Linked DNA regions of Homo sapiens: all the other regions are linked to region 1. Evidence: promoter capture Hi-C in human tissues and cell types (Jung and others, 2019). All regions are on one chromosome and are shown on one strand. The core of a region is centred on a gene start or on the middle of the fragment in contact, and the rest is flanking DNA. Distances in the headings are between cores, read along the strand shown. Region 1 holds the start of MYOCD (myocardin). Region 2 has its middle 180 kb from the start of LINC00670. Region 3 has its middle 160 kb from the start of MIR744.

Region 1 (2,795 bases), core at 193-2,692:
TGATGTTACGTAATCGCTGAGATGCTCCTGCACACGAAATCAGCCTATAGACAGGCGCCCAGGCCAGGACTAGATCCCCAAAGGGAACATGGATGGATTGTTCTTCCTCGTCTCTGACACATCAGCAAGAAGGTGTCTATCCCTGAAGACCTTATTTACAAAATCGCCCCGCTCAGATCCAGAGAGTAAGCTCTAGGGCTAACCCCTCTAATGTGTTTTCAGCAACAGGGGATGGGGCAGAGGCCGGGACCAGGACATTAGAGGTTGTCCCCATGAGCTATTGTCACCTCGGGTCTCCATCTGTCACCGACTGATCTTTTAAGGACTCGTAGTATGCAGGCAGGCTTGTGTGTAATAGACGACACCCGGGGTCCACGTGCATATGAAGTTGCAAATAAGCCCTAATTATATACGTATACAGAGTGGTTTTTATGTTCTGAGCCACCAACTATTTAACGGGCTTCTTGAGAGATGGGTCTTTGTTTTATTTCATTGATCCATGTGCCTATAACACCTCGGCCAGATGCACAAATAACTCTGGGTCGGTTACGGAATGGATTTTCCCCTAAGGAGAGACTCATTCGCAGGCAAAGTTTTTGAGCCTTCCCAAGCTAAGCCCAGCCCGAGCTCTGACTTGCCCCCTGCTCCAGAGCCCCTCCCTATTTAGAGCCCAGTAGGTTTTTCACTCCAACTCAGGTATCTTTTCCCATTCCCTCGGGGTTGTGAGGTGGGAGCGTTGTGTCGCAGCTGGATCTCCAGATGCGCCGTGTCACATTTGTCCCCCCAAAAAGCATATCCTAGAAAATGAAAGCCTTTCCATTTCCCCGTGGAAATGCATCTAAGTCCAGTATTGGAGCTGCGAGATACAGAATCGTCTCTGCCAGTGCCCTGAGCCCCTCAAACCGAGGGGAATGCGTGGGCTTCGGTCCGTCGGAAGCTTTTCTTCTCAGGGGTCCAGCTTATTTCCAAATTGCCCCGCGTGAACTGTCCCGCGGGCGCGCACGCCCTTTCGCGCAGCCTTTGCAGCCGGCTGGCGGGAGATCCCGGCCGCTTCCCTTTCGCCGGCAGAAGCCCGGCCGGGGAAGCCCCGGCTGCGCACGCCCATCCCCAGGACCTCGGAGCTCCCAGCGGCTGCCGCAGCCCCGCGAACCACCTGCAAGCCCCGCGGCGTCGCAGCCCTTCCTTCTTTCCTCCGGGCATCCGCTCTTTAGCTCGCGCCCCTCTCCCAGATTCCCGACCCCTGGCCCTGCTCCCGCCCTCTGTGCCTCGGCGGCTGCGGGGCCCGCCGCAAAGAGTTAAGAGCCGGTTCCCGAGACGGCTTCGGCGGCTCCGGGTCCCCAGACCCCGCTCGCCGCTCCTGATTGGCTGAGCGCCTGTCAGTAGTAAAGGGTATCAGATGGCAAAGTTGGGACCTTCATAAAGGCGTGGTGGCGATTCTCCGCAATCGCCGGCAGCCTATGACATCAGACAGGAACGCCTGGGATGCCGCGCTGCTCCTGGCCAACCTCCGAGGAGGAGGAGGGTCCCGCCGGCTAAGAGTTAATTAGCCCCGCACGGCGAGGGGGGAGGCGCCAGTTTTCTGGGGACACTGGCTGCCACTGTACTCCTACCCAGGGGAGCTCACGGAGAGTTGGATGAATTCTGGGTTGTTAGCTGCGGTCAGCTGGGCTCCCGGGAGCCTGTTGCTGGTGGAGAACAGGGGGCGCCTGGCCAAGGGACCAGCGGCTTGCTGAGACTCAACATGACACTCCTGGGGTCTGAGCATTCCTTGCTGATTAGGAGCAAGTTCAGATCAGGTAGGGCTAAGGCATTTAGCATTCCTTCTTAAACTTTCCTCTTCTGCAATTCTCAACTCTAGAACTGCTTTCCAATAAATGTTTCAAAGCCTGCCAGGTCTACCTCAACTTTGTTCCCCAAAAGCACATTGTGGAAGCGAAGAGTTTTGTTTGACTTTGGGGGCCTTTCGTGTCTTCCGTTGTAAGTGCTTTGGGTGGTCGAGTGTGGTTGTTCATCTGTGAAAAGGCCAATCCTTTTATTTTATTTTCTCTGCATCTATGAATAGAAATTTTGGAGGGGTACATTCAGAGGGAGCAACTTTGGAAATGAACAAATAAGGGATTTCAAGTTTGGAAGCTGCGTAGTATCGGTTATAATCGCTGAGAAGATGAACCTGATGTTGTGTGTTAGGTACAGGGGTCACTTAAAATGTAGCTAATCCAAACAAATGTATTTCCCAAAAAAAGTCACTTGGGGGAAGTAAAAATAGCAAATTTGGAGCACACCAAGTATTTAAAATGACATCACTGTAGAAAAAAAAAGAAAGCCCAGTGCCACAAATATTTTTTCCCAAACCATCTGATATTTATAAATAGAGAATTTCCCCCAAAATTTCTGTGTTAGTGGCACATGGAGAAACTTCTCAAAGGACGCTGAGTGGAGGTGAGTGGAAGGGAGAGACGGGAGCTCTAACCGCTTCTCCAGAAGGGCTTGTACACGCGCCCATGGAAGGTGTCTGTGTGGGTCTCCACGTTTAGACAAAGCAACACTTGACTTCTGAAGTTATTTTTCAGTAGCTCTGTGTATAATGTTGGTTTTAGAAAACTGGTTAACAACACACTCAACAATGTAGGACTTCTACTTAGATTGATGACTTTTAGGAGAACTCTGATGTGAACATTAGACATAACAGGTGTCAGAAAGATGCTGGCATAGGTTGCTAAGCTAAAGTTTCCTTAGCCCTTCTACATGGGGCCAACTCAGTTGTTTCACTTGGGATGGATGGTTCAAAAAGGAAA
Region 2 (2,701 bases), core at 81-2,580, 290 kb before region 1:
CAAGTTAGTATGAGTTTATCGTGGTGCAAAAAAATTTTGAAATCCATGCAAAGTTTTTTCATAATATGCATTTTCATGAACTTCTAAAAGACCCCTCACAGCATTTTATAATTTACAATTAAAGTAAGTTTCCTTTATTAATAGTTTTTATTTCTATTTTTATTAGTTATCGTGTGAATTTGTGATTGCCTTATGACTGTTGAGAAAAAAAGTGCGGTGCATTTAATTATTGTATTTCTTCGTATTAAATCATTTATGTCCTTTAGCTAAATCTTGTTAAGAGCATTCTTTTAATTTTCTGATGAATTCTTTTTCTGAGTATTTGATTGAGGATTTTTTAAACTTCATACATTAGAATGGCCTATAATTTCTCTTTTCTGCTACAATAATTAGTTTTTTTTAAATTTAAATAATGGATCAGGACCCTGAAATGTTTATATAGTCTTAAATATTTTTGGTCTTTAGTACATTGGCTCTCTTCTTGACACATTTTTAGCCCTGAATCTTGTTAGATGGTAAATTCTTTGAACATCTTTTCAACATCTTTTCAGTTCCTTCTAATCTATTCAGGTTTACAGGGCTTTGGGGAGAAACATTCTAGTGATTTCACAGTTTTCAAATCATGATGAATTTCATCAGTTAGAAATCGTATGGATTGATTGGAATGTGATATTTACTTACCCTCTGCATTTGTTACTATGTTCCATGTCTTGATTTTAATTTTACTTTCTTTAGTTTTGCTTTTTTCCCTGATTGCATTTGCTAGAAGTTTGCCTATTTTATTGTTTCTTCTTACCCCCAAATCAAACTTGTTGATTTATTTATTACTTTTCTTCTAGTTCTATTTTCAAATAAATTAGCTCTAATTCTTACCTGCACTAATAAAAGCATTTAGGGCTATTAATTTTCCTTTCAGGATAGCTTCTACAGCTATACATATTTTGGTATGATATATTCTTTTTTTTTTTTTTATCCAGCTAGCTTGTGTTTTCAATTTTGATTTCCTATTTCTTTGTTCCAAGAGTTATTTAGAAGTATGTTTCCTAATTTCCAACTATTAAAGGTTTTTTCCACTCATATTCTTTATTTCTAACTAAGTTTATTGGATTATATTCAGGTAATATAGCCTAAAAACACTCTGCCTCTTTGAATTTGTAAGCTTTATTTGTGGCCAATTATGTAATTGATTTCAGTAGAGGGTCTATGGACATGAGGGAAAACATATATGTCTTTATATATTCCTTAGTTCTTTTGTGCCCAAATAACTTTAGTTTTTATTTTTTATTTTTTTTTTTGGTATACCAGAACCATCTGATTCAGAAGGAAAAATCATTGGAACTGTTTCATGATAGTTGTTTTTTAAGCCAAAAATTATTTGAACCTCTAATAATATTGTATACTTAGGTGCTATATTTTTATAGGACATGCAGCTTTATGATTATTGTTTCTTCTTCATAAATTGTCTTTTATTATTACACAATGTTCCTCTGTATTTTGTTTAGTGCTTTTAACCTTAAGTTCCACCCTGTGTGATATTAATATTGTCACTCCTGCTTTCTTTTTGTTTGCATTTGCTTGACATCTCTCTGTTTATCCTTTTATTTTCAAAATTTCTTTTCCATTTTTAAGAATTCTCCTTATAAACAGCATATATCTGGGTTTTGTTTTTTAACTCAATATGACAGTCTTAGTTATTTAATGGGATAATTCATTCTATCCACATTTACTTTAACATATGATACTTAATTTTATTAGGCCCATCTTTATGTTTAATATTTATTTACTTTGTGATTCTCCTTTATTTAGTTTTATTTTGTAGCTGATTTTGTCATTCATTCTATTTTTTTCTTATCTTTTGAAAATACGACTGTATTTTTTTCATTCTGCTAGTGGCATTTCATGTTTGACTCTCCTAATCATGTATATTTTCCACTATTCTACAGAAGTACAAAACTCCCACCTTTCCCCATTAAGATGCTTTCTTACTGACCTACTTCCCCAATGCTAATTAGAATATTTTTATTTTCTCCCTCCACCCTGTCCTCTAACTCCTATGTTTTAAGACATAGTTTAGAACTTTAAATTTCAGGTCAATATTAGATTTTCTCTTATTGTTTGTCTGTTTTTCCCCAAGAATCTTTATTTAGTGCTTTCTAATATTATGGCAGGTTATGTTATTAGGACCAATTCTCCTGCTAAAACCTAAAATTTATGGAGAACATATTCATTAAAAATTATGCTTAACAGCATCAAAGAAATGACCAGGTTGTAAGAGATTAGGAGGCCACAGTCTAAAGGATCTGAGAGAAGTAAGCAGAGCCTTGAAGCAACGTTATCCTTGAGGGCATTTGGCAAATAGGTAAACATTCTTTGTAACTGAAGGGTATTCAAACTAGAAACAACAAACAAACTCAAAAGACTGCTCAAAGTGCACATCTAAGAGAAGATGCTTCTATCATAAAACGGGGATCCCTAAGAGTCAAACCCTTAAGGGAAAGTGAATTAGATGTAAATTTTCCATTCTAGTTCCAGGGGACTGCAGGGAAATGTTTGTTTGTTTGGCATTGAACAGAACAGGTGAAAACTATCCCTAGGAAGTTGTAATCACAATCTTTCCCTTGTGTGGATTTCCCAAACACATCCAGAACACCTGGTTGTCAGTTACAACTTGATTTGCTAATTCATTTAAAAATGGTCCAGA
Region 3 (2,700 bases), core at 24-2,523, 430 kb before region 1:
GAGCTTGCAGTGAGCCGAGATCGCGCCACTGCATTCCAACCTGGGCGACAGTGAGACTCCGTCTCAAAAAAAAACAAAACAAAAAAAAAAAAACTTGAGGATGAAAGAAAAATACTTCTCTACAGAAACAATAAAAATCGGTTGCAACATCTGGGCAGCTGTGATCCAGCAGAAAGAAACGAGTCCCAACCTGAATTAAAGGGAAAAAGAAACCATATGAATTTAATCCAGTCTCATCTAGAAAAGCTTCCCATTTAGGTCACTTGTATGTAACTCCAATTCCTTCTCCAAGAGCCCTTCCAGGAGAGGCGCAAGGTCCCCCCACACAGAGTGGAATGAGTGGAACTTGCGTCAGTAGCCCTTGGCTTAGGCATTCCTGGCATGGTGCAGGACTCTGAGCTGGGCACAGAAGGCGTCCACCTGGTTCTCGCTTTACAGAGCCCACTGCCTGATGCCCTCCCTCAGGCAGGAGCCTCCTTCAACACAGTGGTCCCTCCCAGAAGACTCCTTGGTAGTAACTGCTGTGGCCAGCAAGCACTACACACATTGAATGCCTCTGCATTTTTATTTTAAAGTCACTTTTTTCTTTTTTTCTGATACTTGCCTACATATACTGAATCAAAATGTGGGTTTCAGGCAGCAACCCAGCAACTAAGTAATTCTTAATGACTAAAGGTTGATAGTGAAAAATGAGTTGGCTCTGATTAATGAGATTAGCTAGCTGGTCATCTTAGAGAATAAAGGGGGTCATGTTGTGTCCAGAATTGGTGGGTTCTTGGTCTCGCTGACTAAAAGAATGAAGCCGCAGACCCTGGCAGTGAGTGCTACAGTTCTTAAAGATGGTGTGTCCGGAGTTTGTTCCTTCTGATGTTCCCACGTATCCGGAGTTTCTTCCTTCTGATGGGTTCTGATCTTGCTGACTTCGGGAATGAAGCTGCAGACCTTCGCTGTGTTACAGCTCATAAAGGTGGCGGGGACCCAGAGTGAACAACAGCAAGATTTACTGCGAAGAGTGAAAAAACAAAGCTTCCACAGGGAGGAAAGGAACCCCAGCGAGTTGTTGACCCTTGCTCTGTGGCCTGCTTTTATTCACTTATTTGGCCCCACCCACATCCTGCTGATTGGTCCATTTTACAGAGTGCTGATTGGTGCATTTAGAAACCTTTAGCTAGACACAAAGTGCTGATTGGTGCATTTACAATCCTTTAGCTAGACAGAAAAGTTCTTCTAGTCCCCACCCTATTAGCTAGACACAGAGCACTGATTGGTGCTTTTAGAAACCTTTAGCTGGACAGAAAAGTTCTCCAAGTCCCCAACCAACCCAGAAGCCCAGCTGGCTTCACCTCTCAATGTTAAAGAGAGCCTCTACTGCCAGGTATGTGCAAGGGAGAGAACAGATTGGAGATTATATCCAGATGACTGTATCAGAGGTGCCGGTGGGGTCAGGGGAGGAGTCCTGAAATTGGGCATGTTTTATTGAGGTGGTTTAAACAAGAGACTGGTTTTGATGTGAGGGTACCAGAAATCCTACACTTTTCATAGAATGGTTTTAGAATTTGCCTTGATGAAAATTTACAGAGGAAGAAAAAGATAAAAGAGAACACTCACTAGAAGTAGTTAGGGGTTGGGTCCCTAAATTGGAGTCTGATTTTGGTCTGATTTCCCGAAGTTTTCATTCTTTCATAGGGGAAACTCAAATACTACTCTTAATCTTCTTAACCTTAGGTGGAGTTCCATGCCTCCAGCTTATCAGCTTCCCCTGAAATCATGGACGGGAGTTTCTTAGAGTGTAGTCACACCTCACAGATCCTATAAGCATCTAGGCCACAGACTGTAAATTTTATTTTTTGCTTTACATCTCCCCTGTATCTATTGAGATTATCATAAACATTTTCCCCTTTAACTCTTTACTTATAGTTTTAATTTTGAAATAATTTTAGATTTACATAAAAATTGTAAAGATAGTTTAAAGAATTCCTGGATACCCCCCGCCCAATTTTGTATGTTACCGTGGTACATTTGTTAAAACTGAAAAACAGACATTGCTCCATTACTATTGAATTAACTCCAGACTTTATTTGGATTTCAACGTTTTTTCTATTAGTGTTTTCTTTCTATTCCAGGATCCAGTTCAGGATACCACATGATACTAATTCTGTGGTCTGTGAGTTTCTCAGTACTTTTTTTTGTTTTTAATGACCTTGAGAGTTTTGAAGAGTACTGGCTGGGCATCCCGTAGACTGTCCCCCAGTCTGAGTTTGTCTGTTGTATTTTTCTCCTAATTCGATCCGGGTTATGGATTTTTGGGAACGCAGCCATAGACGTGAAGCGCCCTTCTCATCACATTGTATCAGAGGGAACCTTGGTCACTTAGTGAAGGTAATGCTGGCAAGGCCTCTTCATTATAAAGTTACATTTTTGTCTTTTCTTCTCTATTCATTGGAATTGAGCCACTAGGTGATTTGTGATTTCTAGTTCCATCCTTTAGAATGACTTAGACATTTTTGTTTGTTTGTTTGCATGAAAGTTCCAAATAATTCACTGATAACACCATCTGGGCCTAAAGTCTTTTTGGAGGTAAAATTTTAAAAACCTTTTAAAAGAATTTTCATGATTTCTTCTGGGTGTGATGGCTCAAGCCTATAATCCCAGGGCTTTGGGAGGCCGGAGCAGGAGGATTGCTTCAGCCCAGGAATTAAG

The links. Contacts are between HindIII fragments. The study calls those that stand out against the background at their distance.
Region 2: a contact is called between a fragment that was not itself captured here and the fragment with the promoter of MYOCD in region 1, in 1 of the 25 tissues and cell types used here (dorsolateral prefrontal cortex).
Region 3: a contact is called between a fragment that was not itself captured here and the fragment with the promoter of MYOCD in region 1, in 2 of the 25 tissues and cell types used here (H1 embryonic stem cells and heart left ventricle).

The regions. Positions count from the first base shown.
Region 1 is chr17:12,664,448-12,667,242 of GRCh38, forward strand. MYOCD (myocardin) reads left to right here and starts at 1,443. Exons shown (of 14, transcript NM_001146312.3): 1 at 1,443-1,796. The coding sequence starts at 1,742. The HindIII fragment of the contact is 11,548 bases long and covers 1-2,795 here.
Region 2 is chr17:12,373,090-12,375,790 of GRCh38, forward strand. No RefSeq gene overlaps it. Among named protein-coding and RNA genes, the nearest start is that of LINC00670, 180 kb to the right of the region's middle. The HindIII fragment of the contact is 4,594 bases long and covers 1-2,701 here.
Region 3 is chr17:12,238,116-12,240,815 of GRCh38, forward strand. No RefSeq gene overlaps it. Among named protein-coding and RNA genes, the nearest start is that of MIR744, 160 kb to the left of the region's middle. The HindIII fragment of the contact is 6,907 bases long and covers 1-2,700 here.